Regions from separate parts of the Homo sapiens genome. Here region 1 is linked to region 2. Evidence: promoter capture Hi-C in 16 types of primary human blood cells and fetal thymus (Javierre and others, 2016). All regions are on one chromosome and are shown on one strand. Each heading gives the region's core, a stretch centred on a gene start or on the middle of the fragment in contact. The rest is flanking DNA. Distances are from core to core; before and after follow the strand shown. Region 1 overlaps CACNA1E (calcium voltage-gated channel subunit alpha1 E). Region 2 holds the start of RGS16 (regulator of G protein signaling 16).

What was found. The method cuts DNA at HindIII sites, captures the fragments that hold promoters and counts their contacts. A CHiCAGO score of 5 or more calls a contact.
Region 1: a contact is called between a fragment that was not itself captured here and the fragment with the promoter of RGS16 in region 2, in 1 of 17 cell types (neutrophils). The highest score is 6.3, in neutrophils.

The regions. Positions count from the first base shown.
Region 1 is chr1:181,486,472-181,489,171 of GRCh38, reverse strand. The region is part of intron 1 of CACNA1E (calcium voltage-gated channel subunit alpha1 E); the gene reads right to left. Among named protein-coding and RNA genes, the nearest start is that of CACNA1E, 4.3 kb to the right of the region's middle. The HindIII fragment of the contact is 2,431 bases long and covers 180-2,610 here.
Region 2 is chr1:182,602,947-182,605,646 of GRCh38, reverse strand. It overlaps RGS16 (regulator of G protein signaling 16), which reads left to right and starts at 1,258. Exons shown (of 5, transcript NM_002928.4): 1 at 1,258-1,431; 2 at 2,308-2,418. The coding sequence starts at 1,388. RefSeq lists enhancers at 944-1,023, 1,494-1,543, 1,634-1,693. The HindIII fragment of the contact is 22,726 bases long and covers 1-2,700 here.

The DNA of each region.
Region 1 (2,700 bases), core at 146-2,645, 1.1 Mb after region 2:
AAGCAAAATAAGATCAGCAGAGTCACCATTGATGGACTGGATTGCACATCTGGGCTTTGGTGTTTGGTGAGCTGTAGCTTTCCAGGCAGCCCTGTGCATGACGTAAGGGAGGTGGCTGACCTGCTCATCAAACACATGGAGTCAAGGGTTTGCAAGAGTTCTGAGAGCTTAGCAAAGCTTCACTCAGTTTTATTTTCACTAAGAATATGAAGATTGAAAGAAACCAGATGTTCCTATAAAGAAGGGGGAAAGCAGCAGAATTTGAGGGGGAAAAACACCTACATTTTGTACAGCAGTGCTATAAAGAGATAAGTAATTTTGGATGGAGCTAATAATTTCAGAGTCTGGATGTTTCAGAAGAAAAAAAAAGCAGGCCTGTTCTCATTACTTTCCTCTTCCTCCTTTAATTCATAGCATGCACTGCGCCTATTGCAGAAAAAGCAAGTGGAGGGAAGTGGAGAAATAATGACATGCAAACCAACAGACAAAACTATCACATTGAGGATATTTTTGTCTCTATCCTCAAGTCATTTCATTTCTGTCAAATTCCTTCACTCCAACTCATTTTTCAGGCTTCATCCCAATTATAAATGGTCCCCACAACAAGTCATGGCCTGGTTTCCACATGAAACATTACCCACACTTCATATCAAAAGCAAAGCCAACAGGCAATTCAGAGATTGTCCTGGGATGCTCAGAAAATGAAGAACTTTCTCCTACAGCTCCAGTACCAGCTGCAGTCACTATCTGTTTCACCATCTGCATCCACGCACAGGTACACAGAAGATATGAACCCCTCTGCATTATCTGATCATAGGATATAATTACAGACTTCATCCTTGTTAGCTGCCATCATCTTCCCTAATCAAGGCATCTTGACTCATGATTCACTAGTTACATCAAACCTGAAATTCTTACCGGGACCTCAGTCTACTATCCTGCAATGTGCTATACATTTATAGGCAACAAAAGCAGAAGAAAAGAAGACACCAAAATGGGAGATTTAAGAACTAAAACTTTTGGTAACCCTCACCAAAATCCTCCAAAATAAACGGACATTTTACAATGGGAGATTCACAGTAGTAAAGCATACAACCTCTGATCCATAGCCAGAGTGCTTTGGGGATACAGTGAAATTCTCTACAATAAGAAATCATGGATTAATGTCCACAGGTTCATTGTGATGAGCTTCATTATCTCAGGGCTGCAAACATATTTGACCTTCCTACTGTAAGCCATATTCATTTCCACACGAAGCATGTTCTCCCCTGCTGAGACAACCAAGGCGATGGAGGTGTGGGGGGAATATCCTATTGCCCAACTCTGGCATAGAGTCTCCAAGCCAGACACACTACTTCTTGCCTTCACACCCGTGACCTGGAAAAGTTCAAACAAGTGTGGGGCATCCTGCAAACCACATGAGAGATGCTGTATGGCCCACAGGGTAACTGGCCCTGGGCATGAAACAGTGAGAGCTGGTAAGCATGAGGCACGGTGAACATGGGAGGGCACTCAGAACAGCCAACTGCCAGAGAAGATCTATTAGATGAGCAAAAAAGAAAATGAAAACGAGGAATCGTATAGAATGTAACATCACATTTTAAATCACATTAGCATTTTTAAAAAGAGTATGGTATCCACTGCAGAGGAAAGTGCCATAAGAAAATAAAATTATCTCCCTATGCAGATGTAGCTTCCAAGAAAAATGAAACACATTCAGAGTAGGCTGTTGACTTGCCACCATCTTTCATGCCAAATCTGGGTTATCTTGAGCATTTCTTCCCATAAGAACTAGACCTCCCCTATTAATAACTGGATAAGATTACCCTCCCCCTCCAAGTCGGGGTGATCCTAGAAGCATAAATTAAACCATTCCTTTTACTTAACCAATCTTTTCAGACAAACATGATTAAAGACCAGTAATGCACAGCATGATGAGACCACTAATGCGGCACATAGAAGTGTACATTATCCCCCTCGTCCTACAGTGACTTTCTGCAGCCAATGAAAGTGTAAGTCTCAAAACGTGTTGTAACACAAACAAAATCCTCAAGCATGCTAAATGTGCAAATGTCAATATGAAAGCAGGTCTTGACATGTTTTCTGAACAACTGAACAACCTTCCTTTCTTAAAAAAAAAAAAAAAAATCTGGCACTTACAAAGAGCAAAGAAGTACTTCCTAAACTTTAATGAGCATATTAATCACACAGGGATCTCATTACAATGCAGATTCTGATTCAGCAGGATTGAAGTGGGGCCCAGGATTCTGAATTTTTAGCAAGCTCCCAGGTGATGTGGATGCAGCTCCTTGCTCTCTTTGAGAGGCAAGAATCTAGAGGACTTCACCTGAACTAAGACCCCTCCCCACTTCAGGCACGCTGAAATTTCTGAAAGATGCCATTAATAATAACAACTAGTGATTACTGGGTAATTAGATAATGTTTTAGGCATGTGATATATATTAAGTCATTTAATTCTCCCAGTATTATTATTATTATCCTCATTTAACAGGTAAGAAGACTGAGTCACAGAGTAATGAAGTAATTTTCAAGGTCAGAAAGCTGGTGAAGGAACTAGGATTTCAACCCAGGCAGCCTAGCTCCAAAGCTTTATGGGCAACCACTACCCAGACTGACTCCCAATAAGACAAAGCAAGATACTTGGGAAGTTATTTGTTTAGAAAGGAAAGGAAGGTGAGA
Region 2 (2,700 bases), core at 9-2,508:
TGATAACTCTCCCCAGTAAACCTCCTGCATGCAAGTGTCTACCCGAGTCTAGTTCCTAGGAACTCAAACTAAGAATTAATTTATTTAGTTCTCACAACCACCTTATGAAATAAGTTGTTCTCTTCGTAGAGACAAGGAAATGGAGGCATAGAAAGGTTAAGCAGTTTGCCTCGTCTCCCATCAGTAGCCAGTTAACAGTGAACGTGGCCTTCCTGCAGCTGGGTCTTCAGCAGGTCACCTGGCAGAGCCATGACTTGAAACCTGAAAATCTAACTCTAGACCCTGTACTTTTAACCTCACATACAGCCTCTTAATAGCAATCCCAATGCCTTTATGGGAAGATGAGGTGAGAGGAAGGGCATTTATTACCTTTATGTCAGAGATGGAGACAATAAGGTATTAACTGCTTAAACCCAGGATCGTCCACAGGTATAGCCGTGACCGGGTACTAACCTTTGTGTGTGTGTGTGGTGTGTGTGTGTGTGTGTGTGTGTGTGTGTGCAATGGAAAAAGAATGGCAAATTCACATTTGAATTTTGGAGCCAACACTTACTAGCTGCACATCTTTGAGCAAGTTATTTAATAACTAAGACTTTGAGCAAGTCTTACTTATGTGCCTAGCACATAGTAGGTGTTCAATAAACTACTCATCCCTATTCCACTTTTCTGTCATCTCCAACTGTGATCTTGGACAAGTTTATTTAGCTTTCTGATTCTCGATTTCTTCATCTATAAAATGGAGATGATGATGAAGAGCTTACTTAGCCCCGTGTCCATCATGGTAAGAGCCTCGTAAAGGGTACTTATCAGTATAATCAGATGCTGTTTTGCCCAGGTTTGCACCCTGTGCGCCTGTCCTCAGGACCCAGCAGGCTCAGACTTGCCTGCGATCAAAGAAAGCCCTGTGTGCCTCCCAGACCCACCACCCCCGTGCAAACTCTCTCAACACGACACCGCTGCGTGACTTTCCTGCTGTTACTAGAGGTCGGCAGGTACTTTTCCCTAGGAAACTGGGTGTGCACGTCTCATCCCCGTGCCAATTCTCTTGCCGCTTTTCCTTCCACACGCGGCGTCCTCTGGGCGGAGGGTGCAGCTCCGCGTGCTCCAGCTGCCGCGAAAGTTGCACCCGGCCCAGTCTGGCTGCGGGCCCCGCCTCCGCCTTCTCAGCGCCCAGCCCCACCCTCCGATTGGTCAGCAGTGCCCAGCCCCGCCCCGCTCCTCCGAGGGGATTTAAAGCAGCGGCCGCTCAGTCTGGGCGCTTGCAGGCTGCTAAACCCAACCGCAGTTGACTAGCACCTGCTACCGCGCCTTTGCTTCCTGGCGCACGCGGAGCCTCCTGGAGCCTGCCACCATCCTGCCTACTACGTGCTGCCCTGCGCCCGCAGCCATGTGCCGCACCCTGGCCGCCTTCCCCACCACCTGCCTGGAGAGGTAAGGGGAGGTTGTCCAACTGCTTGGGGGAAGTCCCACCAACTCTTAGGGAGTGGAGCGGCAGGCCTGGGGACCTGGGTGGGCGCGGGGATGGGGCGCTAGAGGCTTGAGTAGAGAGGTAGAAGCGCACTTGATGCCACGTGCTCAGATTCCAGGAGCAGGGAGAAAGCAAGGGGAAGGGAAGCAAGGGCCCGCGGCTTGCTGCCATCCCCATCCTCTGACAAACTGCAGTCGTGCTCAGGTGACCTGCTGAAGACCCGGCTGCGGGAAGGCCACGTTGACATTTCCAGGCAGCACTGAGCCTGCCCATTTCTTAAGCATTTGTTTTTCATTCCTCAGACCAGAGCTAGGGGCATTGCCTCCTCTGCCCCTGGAAGACAGGGAGATTTTTTTTTTTTTGGTGGGGTGTGTGGGGGTGGGGGCTCCCACTGTTGAGGGTGTGTCCATATTCCAGAGAGCTACTCAACAGCTTCCAATCCTTACTGGCTGGGAAGGAAAAAGTAAAGATGAAGGCAGGAATCAGTTTCCCACACAGTTCAGAAATACTTCTGAAAAGAATGCTGAGTTCTTTTCTGAATCAACAGGCACGAAGAGAGATCAGTGTGACTTTAGGGAAAAGCCCATATATGCAGCGTGTGTATTACCCAGAAAGTGTAAGACCTACCACAGCATAGCTCAAACATTGCTTTTGTTGCTTTGGGGTTGATGATGCTGATAAGAGAAGCACTCTTGGCCTGGGGACAGCCAAGAGTTTCCAGGAACTCTTGAGGCTAAAGTTTGGGTGGCACCACCCAGAGCTCTTCTGGGACCCATAAACCTCTCCACACTGGCTGAGCAAATGAGAGAATGCTTTCATGTTCCTGATTTGTTTTTCAGAGCCAAAGAGTTCAAGACACGTCTGGGGATCTTTCTTCACAAATCAGAGCTGGGCTGCGATACTGGGAGTACTGGCAAGTTCGAGTGGGGCAGTAAACACAGCAAAGAGAAGTAAGTGTTGCTGACCAGCTCAGGGCTCCGAGAGGGAAGGGAGTGGGAAGGGAGTCATGAGGAGGGAAATACAGGGAGAAGCCAGGACACGCTAAGTGGACCTTGGCAACACCTCCCTAGAGATTTTAGTGGGACTTGTTGCTGGTCTGTTATGACTACTTGGCTCATGGGTGAGTGGGTAGGTGGCTCCAGGGCTCCAAGTCCATCCACGGATGAGGGCACACAGGGCATGAATGCCTAGTTCCCAGACTCTCCCACCTCGGGATTCATTGCACGTGCATC